Regions from separate parts of the Homo sapiens genome. Here regions 1 and 3 are each linked to region 2. Evidence: promoter capture Hi-C in 16 types of primary human blood cells and fetal thymus (Javierre and others, 2016). All regions are on one chromosome and are shown on one strand. Each heading gives the region's core, a stretch centred on a gene start or on the middle of the fragment in contact. The rest is flanking DNA. Distances are from core to core; before and after follow the strand shown.

Evidence for each region. The method cuts DNA at HindIII sites, captures the fragments that hold promoters and counts their contacts. A CHiCAGO score of 5 or more calls a contact.
Region 1: a fragment that was not itself captured here is called in contact with the fragment with the promoter of PRRC2C in region 2 in 1 of 17 cell types (total CD4 T cells); the score reaches 5.8 in total CD4 T cells.
Region 3: a contact is called between a fragment that was not itself captured here and the fragment with the promoter of PRRC2C in region 2, in 1 of 17 cell types (neutrophils). The highest score is 6.7, in neutrophils.

What each region holds. Positions count from the first base shown.
Region 1 is chr1:173,857,953-173,862,450 of GRCh38, reverse strand. It overlaps DARS2 (aspartyl-tRNA synthetase 2, mitochondrial), which reads right to left. Exons shown (of 17, transcript NM_018122.5): 17 at 3,905-4,498. Among named protein-coding and RNA genes, the nearest start is that of GAS5-AS1, 3.0 kb to the left of the region's middle. RefSeq lists enhancers at 104-820, 821-1,537 and a silencer at 900-1,050. The HindIII fragment of the contact is 2,407 bases long and covers 1,894-4,300 here.
Region 2 is chr1:171,483,276-171,487,904 of GRCh38, reverse strand. PRRC2C (proline rich coiled-coil 2C) reads right to left here and starts at 2,375. Exons shown (of 35, transcript NM_001387844.1): 1 at 2,170-2,375. RefSeq lists enhancers at 1,822-2,570, 2,477-2,786. The HindIII fragment of the contact is 3,004 bases long and covers 1-2,569 here.
Region 3 is chr1:169,479,502-169,483,726 of GRCh38, reverse strand. The region is part of intron 1 of SLC19A2 (solute carrier family 19 member 2); the gene reads left to right. Among named protein-coding and RNA genes, the nearest start is that of SLC19A2, 4.3 kb to the left of the region's middle. The HindIII fragment of the contact is 4,464 bases long and covers 85-4,225 here.

The sequences.
Region 1 (4,498 bases), core at 1,848-4,347, 2.4 Mb before region 2:
TGAAACCCCCATCTCTACTAAAAATACAAAAGTTAGCCAGGTGTGGCGTGCACCTGTAATCCCAGCTACTCAGGAGGCTGAGGCAGGAGAATTGCTTGAACCTAGGAAGTGGAGGTTGCAGTGAACTGAGATCATGCCACCGCACTCCAGCCTGGGCAACGGCGAGACTTGGTCTCAAAAAAAAACACACACACAAAACTACCACCACCTACCCCAATCGGTTACCCTTTACTTTTCATGTGACCACCATGACCTATTATGTGTTTTGTTCTTACTTCCCCCACAAGAATGTAAGCGCTTCAAGTTTATTCCTTAATGTTGGAAAAATGAATGAAACTGCAAATGTAGTAGATCAGTTTTTGGGGAGGTACCAAAGACAAGTTGGTAAAATACCTTGATTTTGAAGTGAAAAACGATGTTACATTTCAAAGTATCTTTTCGCCAGGTTATGGCTCAGGCTTCGAGACCAGCCTGGCCAACATGGCAAAACCCGGTCTCTACTGAAAAAAAGCGAAAATTAGCCGGGTGTGGTAGTGTGGGCCTGTAGTCCCAGCTACTCTGAACCCTGGAGGTGGAGGTTGCAGTGAACCAAGATCGTGCCACCTCACTCCAGCCTGGGCCTCCTAGGCTCAAGTGATTGTTGTGCCTCAACTACCTGAGTAGCTGGGATGACAGGTGTGTGCCACCACTCCCAGCTAATTTTTTTTTCTGTATTTTTAGTAGAGATGGAGTTTCACCATGTCAGCCAGGCTAGTCTTGAACTCCTGGCCTCAAGTGATCCAACTGCCCTGCCCTCCCAAAGTGCTGGGATTACAGGTGTGAGCCACTGCATCCAGCCAAGTTCTATTCTTTTTTTTTTTTTTTTTGAGACGGAGTTTCGCTCGTGTTGCCCAGGCTGGAATGTAGCGGCGCAATCTTGGCTCACTGCAACCTCCACCTCCCAGGTTCAAGCGATTCTCCTGCCTCAGCCTTCCAAGTAGCTGGGATTACAGGCGTGGGCCACCATGCCTGGCTATTTTTGTATTTTTAGTAGAGAGGGGGTTTCACCACGTTGGCCAGGCTGGTCTCGAACTCCTGACCTCGTGATCTGCCCACCTAGCCTCCCAAAGTGCTGGGATTACAGGCGTGAGCCACCGCATCCAGCTTCTTGTTCTCTCTTTTATATATAAGTGCCATTTGCTGAATCAGAAAACTTTTTGACAAGCATATTAAAAGATTTCAGTTGTATGTAGTAGCTCATGCCTGTAATCCCAACACTTTGGGAAACCAAGGTGGGGGGATTGCTTGAGTCCAGGAGTTCAAGACCGGCCTGGGCAACATAGTGAGACCCTGTGTCTACAATTAAAAAAAAAAAGAAAAAAAAAGTGAGCCGGGCATGATGGTGCATGCCTGTAGTCCCAACCACTCATGAGACTGAGGTGGGACGATCGCTTGAGCCCAGGAGGTTGAGGATGCAGTGAGCTGTGTCACACCACTGGATTCCAGCCTGGGTGACAGGGTGAGATGTTGTCTCAAATAAAATATTAAAAATTGGATCACCTTATTCAGCATTCTGTTGTTTAGCAGTTTTGGAATTTTAGTTGTTAGTAAATCTTGACCTTGAGTACACGTTATTTTGATATTCTGTGTGACAAAATGGGAAGTATGCATGAAGCACATCTGCCATAAAGTATGGATGTCTAGATTTTTTTTTCCCTAGAAAAAGTAGTTACAATTGTTTGAGATACAAGCTGAACTAGCTGCTTGTTTTCACAGAACATTTTTAGTTTGAAAAAACCTGACAAATTGATTATTCATATTTTAGGGGTAATTTTGGCAGAGATTTGCTCAAAAAAGAACAAGTCAGCTTGGAAAAAACTGATGGCATTTGTTGCCAATGATAAAACTCAAGCTTCCAAATGAAACCTAAAATTTTGGAAGGCTTGTATACACTTCTGTGCCCTTATAGCTTCCTCAGACTTAGACTTTTGTAATGGGATTGGTGGTAATATTAATTAATGGTATTTTGTTTTAGATATTGTATATCAAAATGTGTCAACATTTGGAAGATTTGCATAACTCAGTGAACCAATATTTTCCAAATGATCAATCACTGGACTGGTGTTACAAATATCACACATAGGTAAAAGTTCTATTTAAATACAAGGTACACCAATGGACTTTAGAAAAGCTCATCAATACGATTTCAGAATCCACATTGCAACTAGCCTTTAAGGAACTCTACTACTTGTCATATTTTGGTGTGGTATCAAAGAGAGTATCCATAATTATCAGACAAAGCTATTAAAATACTCCTCCCTTTTCCAACTTTATATATGAGTGGGGTCAGATTTTCTTCACAGACTTCAACCAAAACAGCATATAACAACAGATAGGATACAGAAGCAGATATCAGAATCTAGTGTCTTCTATTAAGCCAGAAATAAAAAATATTTGCAGAAATATAAAACAATGTTACTCTTCTATTTTTTTTTTGAAAATAATTATTTTTAAAATAAAAACATGGCTGAGTGTGGTGGCTCACGCCTTTGTAATCCCAGAACTTTGGGAGGCTGAGGCAGGCGGATCACCTGAGGCCAGGAGCTTGAGACCAGCCTGGTCAACATGGCAAAACCTCGTCTCTACTAAAAATACAAAAATTAACCAGGTGTGGTGGAGGGCACCTGTGGTCCCAACTACTCAGGAGGCTGAGGCAGGAAAACTGCCTGAACCCGGGAGGTGGAGGATGAAGTGAGCCAAGATCGCACCATTGCACTCCAGCCTGGGCAACAGAGTGAGACTCTGTCTCAAAATAAAATAAAATAAAAACATGCTATTTGTGTTAACATGTAATGGGTTATTTTAAAATGAATTTAACATTTTAAACTAAATCATTAAATCAATTATTAATTAATTAAATAGGAGGCTGAGGCAGGAGAATCACTTGAACCCAGGAGGTGGAGGTTGCAGTGAGCCAAGATGGTGCCACTGCACTCTAACCTGGGCAAAAGAGCGAGACTCTGTCTCAAAAAAAAAAAAGGTATAAATCAAAAGAATTTCAAGGCAGAAGTGAAGACTGAGTAGAAGAAAACAATTTCAAAATCACTGATCAAGACCTTGTTCTCATTTTGTCTTTTTTTGAAATGGAGTCTTGTTCTGTTGCCAGGCTGGAGTGCAGTGGTGTAACCTCGGCTCACTGCAATCTCCACCTCCTGGGTTCAAGTGATTCTCCTGCCTCAGCCTCCTGAGTAGCTGGGACTACAGGTATGTGCCACCACACCCAGCTAATTTTTGTATTTTTAGTAGAGATGGGGTTTCACCATGTTGGCCAGGATGGTCTCAGTCTCTTGACCTTGTGATCTGTCTGCCTCAGCCTCCCAAAGTGCTGGGATTATAGGCGTGAGCCACTGTACCCGGCCTCATTTTATAATTATTAGTTTATTAAAACTTTTATGTGTATGATTAGAACTTAAAATCACAATGAGTTTTGGTGTTCACTTTTTCGCACATTTGAGGTTAATCTAAGGTTGATTAGAATTTTCAATTACTTATAATTGAGAGAAAATAGTGTTCAGTGATTAATAATATCTTTGTTGTCTTTTTTTTTTTGAGATGGAGTCTTGCTCTGTCACCCAGGCTGGAGTGTAATGGCACCATCTTGGCTCACTGCAACCTCCATCTCCCAGGTTCAAGCAAACCTCATGCCTCAGCCTCCCGAGTGGCTGCGATTACAGGCATGCGCCACCATGCCTGGCTAATTTTTGTGTTTTTAGTAGAGACGGTTTCACTATGTTGGCCAGGCTGGTGTTGAACTCCTGACCTCAAGTGATCCACCCACCTCAATCTCCCAAAGTGCTGGGATTACAGGTGTGAGCCACCACTCCCGGCCAATAATATCTTTAAAACTAAAAAAAAAAACAGAAAATTGATAAGTAAAATGACTTTTACTATTGATATCAGTTTTGTTTAATCTGAAACTATAAAATAGAGATATATCTACCTATTTATGGATGGATAATACCATCATCTCATATTTGTGGAATGCTTTATAGTTTTTCAAAGTACTTTTATTCACTTTATCTTCCATATATGTTATCTCCTCTGATTCCAGCAATAACAGCCCGGTGAGGTAGCCAGGGCAAGTATGTATTTTACACATTAGCAGGAAGGGAGGCTAAGCGAGGTTTATGTAACTTACTCAGGCTGAAACACTGAAGAAAAATTTGTGACTCTCATTTCAGTGATGTTTTCTGCATTATTAAAAAATATTATGCTACTCCTCACTATATTATGTTGATGGTTGAAATGTCATTATAAAGCTTAATTTATATGATTCTCTTGATGAGGATGATGAAGCAAATGCTCCATCAACTCACTAGTTTACAGGGGCAAGCATTTTCCTACATTTCACACATAATTTGATTACCTCTGTCCTAAGTGAATAATCTACTATCTGGGTATGAGAAACATGATTTGAAAACACTAAACCACTATATTATTTCAACAAAGAACCATCTTT
Region 2 (4,629 bases), core at 1,126-3,625:
ATATCAGGGATAAGGGGAGGTGAAATTTTCTTATGTACCTAAAGAAATATATACATCACCCTGAGAATTTACAGATTATTTATTGCTTGGAAGAGAGTATTTTCTTCTACCAATATCCTACCATTCTCCCTCCACTATTAGTTGACCTTTTACTATGCACTAAGCATAGTAATAAGCCCTTTACATACATTATCCATTATCTTTTTTTACTCCTATAAAAGCCTCTGAGGGAAGTCCTATTATCATCACCATTTTACAGATGAGGGAATATTCTACCAATAATATAGATCAGACGCCTAAATTTAAAAATTATATCTACGACATGGTAGAGTTAGTTTTAAGTTATCTCTAAGCACTCAAATAGAAAAGGACACAAAAAAATTAGCCTCTACCCCAAGTCCAAAGTGGATATATTCCATTTTTACAACTTTCAAAACTTTAACCTTAGCATGCAACAATATTCATATACTAGTCAAGCTAAAGAAAAACTACTAGTTAATAATGCTTTATCTTATTTAGTTACTGTAGTTTATAATTTAAAAAGCAGGTTGAAGGTTTAGAGCATCCCCTTTGGGTTCAGACAGTATGGAATTGAACCTACACAATACCACCAATAACTGCTATGTGACCTTGGTCAGACTACTCTCTCAGATTTCATTTCCTCATCTGTAAAATGGGGATGATCTTAATAGCACTTTTCTCAAAGGTCTGTTGTGGAGATTAAAAAAAAAATGTATGAAAAGGACTTATTACTGTGCTCAGTGTATAGCAAAAGGTCACCTAATGGAGAACAGCCACACATAAGCTAAGCAGAGCAAACACAATCACTTAAAAAGGCTATATTCTGAAAATCCACTTACAGAAAAGGAGAGAATTACTATTTGACTACATGCTAAAGACAAAATTCAAGTTCAATTTATTCCTAATTTTTTAGGGGATCAATGCATTTGGGGTGAGCCAGAAAAGATGCTGCAGTGCATCTGTGACACACACCTAAAAATGGCTCCAGTCAAAGCAGCATCTTAATTACCAATATGGGAGGTGAAATCTAGTTTTGAAAAATGGTGGGGTTAGGCTTGGTAGGTGCTTAGTATCACCCTATTATTTTTATTTGCAGGAGTAAGCTATTAAGTACTCAACAATCAAAAAATCCTCCGATTCTTCTGGTGCATTCCAAATGAAAATCTTACAGCAGAGCCGCCTACTGTACAATTCTAAGTACTCTAACGAGGTATGAATCTATGAACCCAGGCTGAAAACCAGCCAATGCGGAAATCCAGGTAGCTTTATAAGCCAGCAAACATCAGGCATGTCAGACCCTCAAAAGATCCCAAATAATGTCAAAACACACATACATCCCTTTAAATTAAAGGTACTCCTCTCATGCAAAGGAAGGAAGACTCTATCAATGTCTCTATAGTGGCCCCATGCCCTTTTCTTCAGTCCTAAAACGGGGCCTTTACCCTGACACCACCAATATCAACGCTATCTCAAAGACAGGGAGCTACCGAGATTCACCACGCAAGTTAGAGGATGGAGCGGCCTAGAGTGTGAAAAGACTACCCAAATCCTCCTCCGGAGTTGGGCAGCACTTCCCTAGCGGAAGTAGGGTTGGTCTTGATTCCCCGAAGAGCCTCTCATCTAACCAGGTCTTTAAACCAGACCCTCCCATACATTGCTCATTGCAAGTCCCACCCTCACTACACAGGAAGAGGTAGACAGTGAAAGCCCCGGCTGAGTCCTTCAGTTGTTTGGGGAAACGCATACCCGACACTAAAAAAAAAAAAAAAAAAAAAAGACTTCACGTCCGCCAGTCCAGGAAGACGGAAACCCCCTTCGCTTACCCGGCAACATGCGTAATCCCCTCGCAGGGCCAGGACTGGGGTCTAGGTGGGAGCAAGACAGACCGGTCCAGAACTCCCGCTGCAGACCACATGGGGCGGGTCTGACTCCGGTTTCCCGCTCCCCAAGCTGGAGGCCGACTTCCCCAGACACAGAGATGATGGTAACCAAACAGAAGGGAAATGCCCGGACCCAAGGCCCTCTCCACGCGGCCCCCTAGCCTCCGGGCGCCAGGGTCTGGGTGCGCTCCCACGCCCCAGGCCGCACTCTGGCCGTTCCCGATGGGGCCCTCTTTGATCGCGGCCCCCACACCCTCGCTTTCCTTACCGGTCAGGGTGAGTGTCAAGTTTGCGCACTTCGAGGGTCTCCGCCGATCTCTGATCGAAAGAAGGGGGAGGGAAAGCTGGGGTTAAAGGGGTGGCCGGAAGGGCCACCAGACTGGAAAAGCCGAAGCTGCGGATGGACAAACCGCCAAAGCACTTTCGCAGCTTTCCGAGGGGGAGCGAGCGAGCGAGAAAAAGAAGCAAGATGGCGGCTAGCCAGCCCCTACGTACTACGTCATGACGCTAAGTACGTAGGTCAAATCTCCGCAAGACCACACTCCTGCGCAGAGACGGCCGGATCACGTGAAGCCTCCGTGGCGGCCCAACCCCGACAGAGGGTGCTGGCGCTTCCTGCTGGACGGAGGGAGTTTCTGCAATCAGAATTATCTTTTCAGGACAAAGCTTGGACCTGAGACCTTTCTAAGAAGTCTTGAATTGACCACGTTTACAAGTTGATAATAAGCCTCAGTGAAATGAGCACTCTTATGTCTGGTGGGTGGATGTGTAAATGGTTGAACCAGCAGTTCGCCAGTATGTCTCAGTGAATTTGGGGCAAGCTGAGAAGTCTTGGTGTATTGAAAAGTTATCACAGAGAGTGAAAGTAAAACTAGTGTGAGGAACAGAGTAGCATGGGCTGCTGAGAGCACTTTTTAAGTTTCTAATTATGGATGTGAGATAAGCCATTCAGTTTATTTATATGATCTCTCCATCACAGTGTTCAGCTCCGTTGAATAGTAAGATTCACCCATGCTGGCTTTTACTAGGCAAGTGTAACATAGGCAGATGAGTGTATCTGGAAGTGGGAGACTACAATGATGATAATATTATGTCAGAACAGATGGCGAATGTTTAGTAAATGGTATCTTTTGTCCTCTTTGTGAACTACCTATGACATATTTAAAATTCAAGGATTTCTTACCACTTCTGGTCTGAACGATCTTCCCCGCCAGTAGCTGGTGTATGTCCATGGAATTGTCACTGTAGCAATGTTAGAATAAATGAAATAATAAAGAGAGGTAAATTATGAACACCTCCCTCCCCACTAATATTAATTTGAAGTAGAAAAGTCTGGACTTGCTTGGTGGCTCATGCCTGTAATACTAATACTTTGGTAGGTCAAGGCAAAAGGATTGCTTGAGACCAGGAGTTCAAGACCAATCTGGGCAACATAGTGAGACCCTACCTCTGCAAAAAAATTAAAAAGAAAAAAAGCTAGCTAGGCATAGTGGCACATGCTTATAGTCCTAGCTACCTGGGAGGCTGGAGGCAAAAGGATCACTTGAGCACAGGAGGTTGAGGCTGCAGCGAGACTCTTTCTCGAAAAAATAGAAAAGAAGAAAAGAAAAAGTTTTTTTATTGATATAGGGTCATTGCCAGGGGAAAGCCTACTGATCATCCACAAGAGGACAAGGAAGCATTACTTTAGTGAATTTCTACAACCTTCTAGGATCTGGTCTATAGTGTCCTGGTCACAGAAACATCTTTCTTTGTTTTTTTGGAGGCAGGGTCTCACTTTGCTGCCCAGGCTGGAGTGTAGTGGCATAATCACAGGTCACTGAAGCCTCAACCTCCCAGGCTCAAGCAATCCACCTGTCTCAGCCTCCCAGGTAGGTGGGACTACAGGTGCTTGCCACAAAACCTGGCTTTTTTTTTTTTTTTTTTTTTTTTTTGCCAGTAGAGACGAGGTCTTGCTATGTTGACTGGGCTGGTTTCGAACTCCTGAGCTCAAGCAAGCCTCCCGCATTGGCCTCCCAAAGTGCCGGAATTACCGGCATGAGCCACCACGCCCAGCCAAATCATCTGTCTTGAGCAATGGAGAACAACTTCAGCAATCAGATGAAATTACATTAACCAAGGTCATAAGACTGACACGTATGGCCGGGCGCGGTGGCTCACGCCTGTAATCCCAGCACTTTGGGAGGCCGAGGCGGGCGGATCACAAGGTCAGGAGATCGAGACCATCCTGGCTAACACGGTGAAACCCAGTCTCTACTAAAAAATACAAAAAAAAATTAGCCGGGCGTGGTGGCGGGCGCCTGTAGTCCCAGCTACTCAGGAGGCTGAAGCAGGAGAATGGCGTGAACCCAGGAGGCGGAGCTTGCAGTGAGCACAGATCCTGCCACTGCACTCCAGCCTGGGCAACAGAGCGAGAGAGCGAGACTCTGTCTCAAAAAAAAAAAAAAAAAAAAAAAGACATGTATTAAATTATTAATTTCTAAGAGCTTTAATTTATACACCTGAACACTCAACAACTGCAAAGCCAATACTTTTTTTTTCTTTTTTTCTTTTAATTTTTGCCAGAAACAGAAAGCCTCCGGTATGCCAGCATGGACCCAAGGTGCTATCTTTTCTTGAGTACATTTTCTCATTTCCCTCCCCTCCCCTCCCCTCCCTCCCTCCTTCTCCCCTCCCCTCCCTCCCTCCCTCCCTTCCCCTCCCCTCCCTCCCTCCCTTCCTTCCTTCC
Region 3 (4,225 bases), core at 1,067-3,566, 2.0 Mb after region 2:
TGATCTGTTTTGTCATGTGCTCTGGGTAGAAGGTTGCTGTGTGACGTGCTACCAAGATCATGTGCTCTGTCCTATCAGAAAGCTTTTCAAGGTGAGTGAAGTGTGTTCAGGGGGCACAGAAATAAAGCAGAGTTGCCAGGCGTAGTAACTATTTGCTGATTGTGTAACAAAAAACATAAGTGTACTTCTCTTATTGCAAATTAGTTGAGGAAAAGCGTGGGATTTGAAGAGAAATCTAGTAGTCTGGGGAAGGGGTGTCTTCTCAGAGGACCACCAAATCATGGCTGATTCTCCTCTGCTTACCTTGTGGCAAACCCTACGTTTTTTTGTATAACTAATAATTGAAATAAATAGAACAACTTATTCATTACTTACTGAATGCTTGTTTTTTGCCATGGACAGTTAAATAAAAAAAATTACATGATTTTTAAGCAAAGCTAATGCTAAGTCATATTCAGCGACATTTGTATTAAAGTTTGTATTTGCTCTTAGAAGACTGCAGAAGGGCCAAGTTGGTTTGAATAGAGCTATTGTTAACTAAATCCTAAAACAAAAGGAGAGGAGAAAAAGATTTCTTCTGTCTACTCTCAAAAGTTTTTTTCTTAGATTTCAGGAAAAGCATTAATTTTAAAACAGATACCAGTGTGTAAGTTTTAAGCAGGCTAAAATTTGACTGTATGTTAATAGTTGAAGGCCAGACTTTCAGTAAAACAGATCTTTATCTCTAAAAACTTTTTTATCCTTTCATCATTGTAGCATGTGTTTTGACAGACATTTACTACCTTTCTTAGATTTTTTTAAACATTCCACCTATTTTGCCTGATATTCAGAGCCTCACGAAGTTTGGTTTTTACCTCCTTGACAGCCTTATATCCTACTACAAACCTTCTTCCCCTTACCACTTCCACATAACCAAGCTCCATTCATATTAATCTAATAGTCTTAAGTCCAGCATATCCACAGTCTCATCTGTTGACATGTACTCAAAGACTTATTCTCTTCTTGGAATAATCTTCCCATATATATCTGTTGATATCTTTGTTAGCCTTTAGGTTTCTCATCCTTCAAGGTCCATTTTGAAGAAACAACCCTGTATTTCCTATTTCCATTATAAATACTGCATATATTATATATTCCTCACTAGGTTCAATACTCCTGGAGAGCTGAGGATCTCAGTTTATTTATTTAGAGACAGTCTTGCTCTGTTGCCCAGGCTGGAGTGCAGTGGTGCGATCTCGGCTCACTGCAACGTCTACCTCCCAGGTTTAAGCGATTCTCATGCCTCAGTTTCCTGAGTAGCCAGGATTATAGGCTTGTGCCACTACTCTCAGCTAATTTTTTATATTTTTAGTAGAGTCGGGGTTTTGCCATGTTGGCCAGGCTGGTTTTGAACCCCTGGCCTCAAGTGATCTGTCCAACTTGGCCTCCCAAAGTGCTAGGATTACAGGCATGAGCTACAGTGCCTAGCCTTATTTTATTCTTTTTTTTTTAAATTTTTTAATTTTAATTTTAATTTTTATTTTTTGAGATGGAGTTTCGCTCTTGTTGCCCAGGCTGGAGTGCAATGGCGTGATCTCGGCTCACTGCAATCTCTGCCTCCCAGATTCAAGTGATTCTCCTGGCTCAGCCTCCCAAGTAGCTGGGACTACAGGCACACGCCACCATGCCCGGCTAATTTTTTTGTATTTTTAGTAGAGATGGGGTTTTGCCATGTTGGCCAGGCTGGTCTCGAACGCCTGACCTCAGGTAATCTACCCACCTCGGCTTCCCAAAGTGCTGGGATTACAGGCATGAGCCACTGCGCCTGGCCATTTTATTCTTTTTGTCACCTCCGTGCTGGTTGAAAACAATGTTGTGCAAATAACTGCCTATTAGTTGTTTAATTGAAACTTGATTCTAATTTAAAGCCTAAATCTAAATTAGAACTTAAAAATGAACATCTGTTTTCCCTTGACTTTGTAGCTCAAGAAAACACAAGCACTGATCCAAAGAGTTGTGAAAGGCACCTTGGTCATAATAAAATCAATTCCCGTTGCTCACATAGCAGATGTTACGTGAAGTGAGAAGTTGGAGTATGGACAATTAATAAGGGTCTGTAATTGGTACATTTTTGCCTGTAGGATGTTTCCCTTCAAGATTCAAAATATCAAGGAAGCATTTTTTGCTGTCATTGGAAACACTGAAAAAGAAAAGGATCTGCCTTGGAGACCCATTAGTTAAGTGCTGGAGACTGTAGTCTTTATCTCTTCATGAATGCCCTGTAAAAGCACCTCAGTGCAGATTGGAAAAGCTACTGCAAGCATTAGAATTAACCTGGAAGATAGTAGATGATTAATAGCAGTTTTCTGATTGAAGAAACCAGGCATTTTAGTGTGGCGGATTCAGAATTTATGAATTCAGATCCTTCTTCTGCCAATCCTGTGATAACTTGGGACAATTCACTTAACCTTTCTTTAAGGCCAAGTTTCCTTGTTTGTAAAATAGAGATGATAGAAGCATTTACCTTAGGTTTGTGGTTTGGATTAAATAGAGAGAATTTAGAGAAAGTGCTTAGCGTGGTGTGTAACACAGCAGTAGAGGTTTGTTATTATGATGCTGATAATAGTGTGAGTGGGGCATTCCCCCTGGGTTGATGTCTTTTAAAGGAGAAAATGCAGGTTTCTTATTTAGAATAAGTTAAAGAGAAACTATCTGGTCTTCCCCCTCTCCCCTATTTGCCTTTCTTTTTGTTTTTAGTTGTTATTGCAAGGTTGGCAGTGTTACTCTCCTCCATCTTCATTATCTAAATTGTAGTTTTGTAATAGTAGAATTAGACTCATGAGTAAAGATACGTTAAATTGATAATTTAAAGGATGAAACTTAGACAATGAAAACTTAGCAGTTAATCATTTTGGGACAACTATGGTTAAAAGTTATGTAACATGTCTAAGCACAGACAATATTATTGGAGTGAAGAGGTCATCCAAAATCCCAAAACAAAGGAAGATGAACTATTGAAGGGAGCAGTAGAGGACATTTTTAAAGGAAAGGTTTAATGGCTAGTACTTCATGGTGCTATGTTGGGGAAATTGTGAAGGTGACACTTAGTCAAACAGAGGAGGCAGTTTCAAACTTTAGAAAATGGACAGGCTGGGTGCGGTGGTTCACAGCACTTTGGGAGGCTGAGGCGGGCGGATCATGAGGTCAGGAGTTCGAGACCAGCCTGGCCAACATATTGAAACCCTGTCTCTCCCAAAAATACAAAAAATTGGCCCGGCATGGTGACAGGCACCTGTAATTCCAGCTACTCGGGAGGCTGAGGCAGGAGAATCGCTTGAACTCAGGAGGCAGAGGTTGCAGTGAGCCGAGATCACGCCATTGCACTCCAGCCTGGGTGACAAGAGTGAAACTCCGTCTCAAAAAAAAAAGAAAGCTGACAGATAGTATCTGTAAAAGTATAGGCCACAAAGGAATGACAAGTTGTTAATTAGAACACAACTGGAAATCTCAAGATTACCCTTACCTGCTTTGGTTTTCTACTTAGAGTTATTTAATGCAGCTAAGGGCACTTTTTTCCTCATTTGCTAAAATTTCCACAGTTTTGAATACGAATCATTTCTACATTTCTTGATTATTCGTTTAGGCACATAGTCAGGTGCAACAAAATTTCCTGATCAAGTGGAGCTTGCTAACTGATTTACCAACACAAATTAGACCAAAATTCATGAAGGTGAGGCCATTAAACAGATCACTTTTGTCTGGAATGTATTTCAGAAAACAGGGATTATGTTTTACTTTTATAGCTATGCTCTGCACTGGCAAGAGATTTTGCAACAATTTTTTATTGTTTGCCTAAAACCTTAGAACCTTAGCTCATATTAGACTTGAGTGAACTGAGATGTACAGGAAAGATAAAAAGAAAGTTACTATTGGTCTCAGAATGTAAAAGTCTGGGATTAGGTTGCTTCATCACAAAGTATTCAGCCTTTTACCAAAACTACCTTTCAAAAAGCACTTAAAAGTTGAGGCCACTGACAAAAGGAAGGAAAAATCTCCTACAGTGATTGTTGTTGGAAGAATGGGAATGATAGCTCAATTAATTTAGTTAATTCATACTGCCCCAGATGTCCTTGTCAGCTTGTCCTCTAGTCTTCAGACTTTGTGAATAAATCAGGTGGAGTAAGTAATTTACATGTTGTGTCTCATTTACTTTTTGCAACAAACAACCGCCCTTTACTGATAATGG